Linked DNA regions of Homo sapiens: region 1 is linked to region 2. The links are contacts of gene promoters, found by promoter capture Hi-C in blood cells and fetal thymus (Javierre and others, 2016). All regions are on one chromosome and are shown on one strand. Each heading gives the region's core, a stretch centred on a gene start or on the middle of the fragment in contact. The rest is flanking DNA. Distances are from core to core; before and after follow the strand shown. Region 1 overlaps FAM91A1 (family with sequence similarity 91 member A1). Region 2 holds the start of SQLE (squalene epoxidase).

Region 1 (4,758 bases), core at 1,898-4,397, 1.2 Mb after region 2:
TCCAGCCTGGGCGATAGAGCTAGAATCCGTCTCAAAAAAAAAAAAAAAAAAAAATTCACATATGCACAAGGTTTAAAATGTGTTATTAAAGAATCACAAACATATGCCAACCCAAAGGTCTGGACACGCTACAGCATGATATCTTGTCAAGATTCAACACTGATATAAAGAAGTATTTCTGTAATAAGCCCTATCACCACTAATTTGTTAATATTAGGGTCATTCTCTGAAATTTTTTGACACTTTATATTTGATTACACAAATATTCAATATCTAAGTATAATAAAACACAAGAACAATAGTTAAAAGATATGCCACAAGACATACTTGTAACATATAACCTGAACATAGTAAGTGCTTCTATAAATTGGTAAGAAATCTAACCTATAGAAAAAAAAGCATCACTCTGTATTCAAGGATATTGAACATATCAGTATTGTAGTGGCAAAAAAACTGGAAATAATCTAAATTACCAGAAATACAAAATGGTTTAATAAATTGATACATCCATAAAGTGTATGACAAATATACAAGGCTCCTAATATTGGTTTAACTTGGAGAAGTAGGTAAAGGAAGAAGGGAAAAGGAAATAGACAAAAAGACTACAGTAACATGAAAAAATAATGCACCAGTATGTTAAGTGAAAATGAGAACATACAATTCTATGAGATTACTGAACACATGTAAAAACAGCTACACACTGAACAAGGATTAAAAGGTAACAAAAATTTATAAAAATATTGATTTGATTTGGGATTGTTAGAAATTTACCTTGGGTTTCTATTATTTTAGTGTAGTATGTACACCAAATACAAAAATGAGAATAAAGAATTTAAGTAAAACCAATGTACTATGTTAAAATGTAATAACGAAGCAATATTTTTCTTGAAATATCCTAACATCTAAGATCCTAGAACGGATGATATGCAATGCTTAGCACCTGATATCCATTCAAAAAACAGTGAAAAATGTTAGCACGGACTTACCTGCTATACAACTGTCATCAGATATTGGTACATCCAGATAAATAAATCCTTTGTTATACAAACCTGAAGAAACAAAAGTACCTTGTTTTAGATGGAACACTACACAACAGTGATTTTTTTAAAAAAACTAATTCCTGGCTTTCTGTAAAGATTCTTACAAATGAATGCTATGTGACGAAAGAAAAAGTAAAATAGAAGAGAAAAAGAATTAAAGTTTTTAAATCTCGGTTTCCTGCATATACTCTGAAGTACAAAATTTTTCTTATCATTCAGTTGCATAAATTTCTAGTGTATGTGACTAATTATAGCCACACTGGAAAACAAAAGACTAAGGTCACATTTCAAACAATAACATGCCTTAGAAACTAGTACTATTTGTACCTACTTGATAAGTAATTGCTAGTAATTATTGATGGTTTAAAACAAGTTTTTATGTTGACAAAAGACCATTTCTACTAACCACTTACTATGTACTACATTGTAATCTAGTGATCCAGAGAGTTGAGGGCCTGAATCGATGATCTTATCAACAGCGCATTTCTCAGGCAAAGTGCATATCTAAGAAAAGCAAAATATTTTTAATTAAGTTCTGTCCAAATTAACTAATTCACAAGTCTCCTGAAATTTATTTATGTTGAAACCAGTGATTACATGTCATTAGCTCAATGAACTACATATTTATCACTCTATAATTCAAACAAAAAACTGTGCACATAGCCATCAATTAAGGTGCCAAAATATGCAACATACCAACAGAATGTAGAGAACAAACTTACTGTAAGTACCAACATTTGCTAGTTAGTAATATTTGTTCCTTGTGATTGAATTGGAATTAGATCCATCTGCCAATTCAGAATCTCTCTAGCCAGAAATTTAGTCAAACTCTACATGAATATTGTCAGTAACAGGAAAGTTCACTAGCTTATTATGATACAGTTTGAGAGTTCCATTAAGAGGTACTTTAGACTGAAGTAAAATTTCTAAGCCTTCCACTCAATGGATTTAGTACGTACCCTGGAGAAAATTAAATGCAGACCAAAAAGAAGCCCACATACTCATTTCCATTGCTTCAGCTACGCATAAATACAACCTGGTCTCTAGGTGCCCTCATTACTCCACCCCTTTCCTCTAAACCAATATCCCTTCTAAGATGTGGTCTGACCACTGGGAATATCAACTCTCTTGATCTTGACACTATCGCCCCATAAAAGCACCTATCACTTCAGTACAACAGTTCTTTGCAGTGATTAAGAGTACAAGTTTCATGGTGAACTGCCAAAAAATCCTGGACCTTTACTACCACTAAGACATGAGCTGTTACTTAATTGTTCTGTGCTCACTTTCCTCATCTGTGAAATGGGGGTACAAATAATACATACCTCTGGGGCTGTTATGAGAATTAAGTAAGACAATATAAAAAGCACTTGTAATAGAGCTTGGCACATCTAGCACACAGCAGGTATTCAAAAGTGTTAGCCAGTATTATTGTTGTAGGTAGCTGTGGCATCATGTTACTTTACACGAAGCTTCTATCTAATTAACATCCCCAGATAACTGTACTTGAACCAAGTCAAGTCTCCCTCACCATTAAAGAGTATCTCAAAAACTCACCAATATTCTAGTCTACTAAGATCATTTTAAATTTTAAATTTAAGTTTCCTTTTCTTCAGGAAAACAATGTTACTTTTTAAAAAATTATAAGCTATAATTAAAAATTGTAAAATAAACTAAAAAATAAAAATTCTATGTTTAACTTTTAAAGATTTCTACCTTGATGTCATCTTCTGTGATATAGCCAGCCTGCACCACCCACCACGCCTCTATGGCAATTTCCACTGGCTTTATTGGTAGAAGATCACGGGCTGTTTTCCTTCTGAAGAATTTCTGCAATGGTACAAACATTTGAGAATTTGCAATCTAAAACTACCACTTTCTTCTTTCATCAATCATATCATAAGATTGTTTCTAATGGACTAAATAAATATCTTCTTAAAATCTTCATGTTTTAAAATCTTAACAATTCTAGATATTAACATATTGTATGAAGAAAGTCATTCTTAAATTGTTTCAAAATAAATTGTTTCAAAACACTAATTGTTAAATCCAGATTTACTTCCACAAACTCAAGTGAAACCCAAGCAGTGAAAAATGCATTTGAAAATGCAAACACTTTTTTCACCCACTAAGTGAACTGTACAAGTAGAATGAGCAAATAAAAAGACTAAGAGAACAAAAATAATTTTTAAAAATAAATGTTTTATGCATTAAAAATTTTAAATAATCATTTATGCTATAACCTAGAGAATACTGAGGAGTTTTTTTTGTATTGTTTCTGTGTTAAGTACATTTTATTTGGTCAAAGACATACAATTCATTATTTCTACCACTTAAAAAAACTAATCAAACTGTGTGATGAGGCCAAAACAATGAAAAAGAAAGTACTAACTTACTTTTGATGATCTACACTGATTCATAAGATCAATATACTGGTTTCTTCCTATGCCAAGAAGCCTTAGACCTGAAAAAAAGAGTCTTTCCTTTAAAAACATTTAACATATCTTGAAATCTCAATATGTTCACAAGCGATTGTAGGAAAAACCCGAGCTTATTTTCATCTTTCAATTACTAGTCAAATATCAATATCAAATTAAAAGGACGTCTTCAACCAAAACATAAATGAAAGCTAAACTTTGGGAGAGATGAATTCAAGATGACACTTCTAACAAAAACATTTTAAAAAAGCAGAAGTCCTGCCAATTTTAGGAAGTCAAAATGTAATTCTCAGCGAAAGCTTCTTAAACAACAGAATTATGACACATTCAAAATATACACTTTGCCAAAGTAAGCATACTAAAACAGCAGCAAGTTAAGTTACTAAAAACTGTATGTCACCCTGCAAAAATACTGTGCACAAGTTTTCCTCCCACATTCAATATACACACAGCCCAAGTATCAGAAAGAACTTCATTCTCTGGAAATATATAGATTAGTCTTATTTTTCTGATTCTACCACTCTCAAATATGCCTCTCTTAGACATTTAGAGTAAATCTTACACATGCATCTGGTATCATCTGATAAAATTCTCACTGATAATGTTGCTTACTGTTCTCATTTTTCACATATTTCAGGTTAAAAACACACATGACAATATTCACAGATGACAGGATGCACAAAGACACAACCTAAACATTACCTTCTTCAGCACAATTAAATACTTACAGTCAGCAGCAGTAAAATTGGGCAATGAATCATAACTTTTCTCACTGTTCATAATATCCTTTTAAAAAGAAAAAAATTTAAATTTGAAATCTAAAATGTCCTTAAATAAAAATGTGTATAAATACAATATTATTACAGCCAATAACAATGATTATTACAGGAAGCAGTAAGATCATAGTTTGGCTACCTAGAGCATACATGCCACCCTGTGGCACTTTCCACACATGTTCCCAACCTAGTAATTAAAGGGCAGATTTTCAGGTCTAGGTTTCTTAAGAGGCTCTCTACGAATCCCAGGCAGCTGCCCCATAACCTCTGCCCTGTGGAAGCTATGTAAGTAATGGCTCCATTAGAGCTCAGGGTTCCAGCCTCTCCACATTTCATACCTGATCCTAGATCTCCACCATGAGAGAAAGCCAAATAATGTGGCACAGCTCCATCAACATGCACTACCAATGAAGACTACAACCACTTAGTGGCCTTTGATCCCACAAGTCCCAATCTGTAGAAGAGCTAAACTTGGTATCCAGCTTTTTCTGCCCCAATCTGTTT
Region 2 (4,849 bases), core at 1-2,500:
AGTGAACCCAATCCTACTCCTAAATAAGACATTCATCTGCCCGCTTTGAAATCAACCTACCCTCCTGGCCTCGAGCTGCTCCTTATTTTCTGATTCAGGGGGGGATTTGGCCCAGAAGAAGCCAATGAAAGGCAGGCCTGAGAGAATATCCGAGAAGAGGGCGAACTGGGAGCCGCTCTGCTGGCGCCCGAGGAGACCCCCGTTTCGGTGGCGACAGCGGTAGGAGAGCACCAGGCCCAGCGAGAGGAACACCAGCACGCACAACAGGACCTCCCTGTTGGCCAAAGTGATGAAGTCCCCGAACTTCTTATAAAAATAGGTGAAAGTGGCAATGCCCAGAAAAGTCCACATGGTTCCAAGGCTTCTTTGGTGGCACCGGTCAAGGCGGAGATTATCTGCTCGAGTGGGTTTAAGGTTCTCCCCAAAATGAGGTACCAAGAGGAGCACGGAGAGCCGGCCAGACTCCAGTAAACAGTGTCCCAGGACGAGAAGTCCGATCAGACCAGTTTTTAAAAATCATATAAAGTTAGTGTAAAAGTATGTGAAGCCAAGTTGTATAGGGCGTAGAAAGCAGTATTTAAAAATCGCCTGCTGGAACAGCTCCCGAGCAGACTCGCTCCTCCTCGCCCAGGAAATCCAGATATTCCCTTTTTTTCTTTTTTGATGGTGTTCCCTGAGCGGTTGCTGCGGGTGATGGATACTCTTCTGATACTGGCTCTTCGTGCTATAATTTCTTTTCTCACCAAGAGCAGGTGCCCTTTCAGAAGGGAATGGGAGTGGAGGGAGGGTCACAGAAACACCTCGGCACTGGGGGAAACGTGGCCTAGCCTCTGGCGACGGCGAGCAGCGGCCGGAAGGCACGGGGGCTGCGGGCCGGCGCGGGTTCAGAGGCTTCTTTTTCCGCGGACGGAGACACTGTACAGCCCAACCTCGGGAAAACGCCAACGCCGACGCCTTCTCCAACAAAAGATGGCCTCGGACTCAAGAGTGCGGCTCCAGGGCAATGCAGCCCCAACCTAAAGATTTAGAGGCCTCCCGTTTCGCTGGCCCCCAGAGCCGCCCACCGCGACTGCACTTCCCCACCGATAAAAGGTGGTTTCCAGGGTACCTCCCTCAGATGGCGGCGGCGGCTCCCGACGGCTTCCTCACCAGCATCCCTCGCGGGCGGCGGCTCTCGCCAGCGCGGCGCGGCCCCAGTAACCAGAGTAACCGTCGCACGCCCCCACTCGCCGCCAGGCTCCACGCGTCTCAGCCAGCTGGGCGGGCTCGGCCCAGACGAGGGACCGGGGGCGGGGCTCAGGCGCGAGTCCGCCCATACCGCGCGCCCCGCGTGCTGCCCCGCCCCCTACCCCTGCTCCTGCCGCCGCCGGCCAATGAGGGCGCGCACCGCGCGGTAGGCCGAGATGGCGCTATGCCGCGTTTGGCCAATCGGAGGCGGCGCAACCTGCGCGGCGACGCCCCGAAAGGCGCTAGGGCGATGTTGCGTGGTGCGGGTTGGGGCGTGGGGATGGGCGCGGGCCGGCTCCGGCGTGGGTGGGGCCAGGGGTCGCCTAGGAGGCGCTCTGGGGCCGGGATCGGCGTCGGGGTCGGGGTTGGGGTTGGTTCACCGCAGCAGCCCCAGCTCCTGCGCCCTCCCTGGACTGAGGTGTGCTCGCTTTGAGGAGAAGCCTGGAGTGATCCGCTGCCTCGGGTCGGAACGTTTCCATTCATTCCGCTAGCATTTATTGAGCGCTTATGATATGTCAGTCCCCGGAGTCCGAAAGAGGAATCAGACACAGCTTCCCTGCCCTGTGTATGTGGAGAGGGCGGAAGGGAGGGCCATGAGTGCGTGGAGAGCCTGACATTCCAGCTGAAGCTGGAAGAATGAGTAGGCTTTTGCCTTAAGAAGAAAAGGAGAGGACGCTCCAGGTGCTCAGGCTAGAGATACACGGATGCGCCCAGCCCGTTCTCTCAAGACCAGAAACGTTGGGGGTGGGGGCTCGGAGGCAAAGAAGTCAAATAGTCGTGTCATAGGTGTCCTGAGAAGGGGGTGGTTAGAGAGGGAGCCATGGAAACCCAAGAGGTGGTCCTTCCCTTGGCCTGGAGAAGTCTGGTGAGGCGCCCAGGGGGAGGTTACACGGTGTCCAGGACAAGCAGTCCGAGGGAGCAAAAGTGTGCAAAAGTCTCGGAGTGAGACAGCCCTTATTCTACTACGATGAAACTTACCTAAAATTTATTGAGGCTTAAGACCTCAGTGTCTTTGCTCATCCTGTTTCTTAACTCTGGACTTCCTTCTTTAACCCCTATGATAATAGGTGCAAATCCCTTCTGCCTTTTGGAGCGTGGCTGCATTGTCACCTCTTCCACCAAATCGCCATTGACCTTCACCAAGTCACATAACTTTATTCATACTTTTTAATCTCTAGATTCCCTAAAGATCTGTGTCTGATAAGATCACCCACAGCACCTAGCACAATGCTCTGCCCTTAATTTATCCTCCATAACATGTATTTAATGAATGATGAACGACACTGGCGCATAAAAGCAAGACTAGGCAACTAGAGTTAGGAGACCCAGATTCTGGCTACCGCTAACCAGACTGTGACCTTTTACAGATGTTACAAGTCACTCTGCCTCTGTGGGGAGAAGGCAACTTCTTCATGAACTCGAACATCCTTTGCAATTCTGTATCAGATACTTGGCAGGGTTTAAAAAAACATGGCACCTCTTATAACTTTTCACCCCCAATATTATGTTTTATCTGCTAATAAAATAATTATTTGGTAAAACACCCGCACAGGCGTTCACTTGACCCTCAAAACAACTTTGATTTTTAAAATGAGGAAAATGAAAATTAAAGAGGTTAAATGGCTTGACTAAATCACAGCTGTGATTAAATCGTAATGATGAAACCAAAAGTCAAAGTCCTGGTCTCCAAATCTTGTGGTTCCCCAGTATGCATAATTATCAATAACTGCCTTGCTTTCCAATACTTTTATTCTTTCTTCTACAATATTCCTCACTGTTACCAGTAAGTTTGGCTGTCTGAACTGACATCAAATTTAAAAGGACTGCAGAAAAGAGAATCAGTTCAATGTATGGGAAATCATTTCCTGAAGAGAATTCTTCAATAAACTGCTTATTGGTATCTGTGAGTTCTGTTTTGTTAAAATAATAGAGGAGCAGCTGACTCTTTTATTATTTTTAAATTTTTGTGACAGAGTCTCGCTCTGTGGCCCAGGCTGGAGTGCAGTGGCGCAATCTCAGCTCACTGCAACCTCTGCCTCCTAGCTTCAAGCGATTCTCAAGCCTCAGCCTCCCGGGTAGCTGGGACTAGAGGCACGTGCCACCATGCCGGCTAATTTTTGTATTTTTAGTAGAGACAGTGTTTCACCATGTTGGCGAGGCTGGTCTCAAACTCCTGACCTCAAGTGATCCTCCCGCCTGAGCCTTCCAAAGTGCTAGGATTACAGGCATGAACCACCAAGCCCGGCCAACTGACTCTTACAGATGGGAATACAGTTATCACCAGGATGGCTGTTACCTGCTAACTCTGTACTCAAGATTATCATAAAAGGAATTTTTCTTATTAAGTAGATAATTTTTTAATCTCTGGAAAGCGACTTTCTTCATATGTTTTTATCTTCACAAAGTCATTCTTACAATGTCAGGTCTGAATCCTTTAGGCAGTTCAAGATCCACTTCTGAATTTGGGGCAAAAAGAGCACTTGTAATACCTACCGCAGAGCACACTCTGAATGCCTATATCTTCTGAACTGAATTAAATGTTATATAAGCATTGCTTAAGTATTTTTGAATCTTGCCATGGTTCATTTATTCAAAAACAAATCTGTCATTGAGACCTGAAGGGAAAGCAATGAAATGTGAGACAAAATCAGCTGCTTACTGGCAGAAAGCCATAATGCTATCAAGTAGGTACATGAGAAATACTTTCGTACAAGAGCTCACACATATAGTACGGGTAGCATTCTAAATACTTTTCATATATTAGCTCGTTTTGGCTTCCTGACAACACTTTTAGGGAGATACTACTTTTTTTTTTTTTTTTTTTTTTTGGAGATGGAGTCTCGCTCTTTCACCCAGGCTGGAATGCCGTGGCCTGATCTCGGCTCACTGCAACCTCCGCCTCCCGGGGATCAAGCGATTCTCCTGCCTCAGCCTCCCGAGTAGCTGGGACTACAGGCGCAGGCTGCTACGCCCGGCTAATTTTTGTATTTTAGTAGAGATGGGGTTTCACTGTGTTGGCCAGGCTGGTCTCCAACTCCTGAGCTGAGGCAATCCGCCCGCCTCGGCCTCCCCAAGTGCCAGGATTACAGGCGTGAGCCACCACACCCAGCTAAGATACTATTTTTTTAGCCCCATTTTACAGACAAGAAAACTCATGCACAGGGAAGTGATCACAGCTAGTGACTAGCAGAGTCTGAATCCAAGCCCAGAAAATGTATGTGAGGAATTTAGGAATGTGTGACTTGATTTTTCTCCCCACACAAAGACCTAGTTATCTTGAAACAAACAAGCACATCTGATCTCTTTTTTGCTTAAGCTTTTGAGTTTTCACTGTTAGCCTAGTTTGGCACACCAGGCTAGATTTGTGTTTTAAGTGCCATTCTCAATGCAAGAAAAAGTCCCGCCCAGCTTTCCTCAACTACCCATGCTTTGAGACCTCAGATTAATCATCTTTTTTTTCCTCAAGTTTTCATAATTCCACCTCTGTTGTAGCAGTCACTCACCAATTTGTACTATAATTATCTACTCACAATGCCTTTTCCAAGTTGTCGAAAAAGAGCTCAAGAGAGGGTTCTGAGATCTCATGCAAAAAGGAATTCAAGGCTAGTAGCAGAGCGCAGTG

Evidence for each region. The method cuts DNA at HindIII sites, captures the fragments that hold promoters and counts their contacts. A CHiCAGO score of 5 or more calls a contact.
Region 1: a contact is called between a fragment that was not itself captured here and the fragment with the promoter of SQLE in region 2, in 1 of 17 cell types (monocytes). The highest score is 7.1, in monocytes.

Annotation. Positions count from the first base shown.
Region 1 is chr8:123,776,771-123,781,528 of GRCh38, reverse strand. FAM91A1 (family with sequence similarity 91 member A1) reads right to left here. Exons shown (of 24, transcript NM_144963.4): 4 at 4,207-4,264; 5 at 3,437-3,504; 6 at 2,757-2,870; 7 at 1,454-1,544; 8 at 987-1,049. Among named protein-coding and RNA genes, the nearest start is that of FAM91A1, 11 kb to the right of the region's middle. The HindIII fragment of the contact is 1,265 bases long and covers 2,515-3,779 here.
Region 2 is chr8:124,994,906-124,999,754 of GRCh38, reverse strand. It overlaps SQLE (squalene epoxidase), which reads right to left and starts at 1,250. Exons shown (of 11, transcript NM_003129.4): 1 at 61-1,250. The coding sequence starts at 351. SQLE-DT (SQLE divergent transcript) reads left to right here and starts at 1,557. Exons shown (of 2, transcript NR_134457.1): 1 at 1,557-1,792; 2 at 2,595-2,767. RefSeq lists enhancers at 890-939, 1,870-1,929 and a silencer at 1,150-1,649. The HindIII fragment of the contact is 7,996 bases long and covers 1-4,545 here.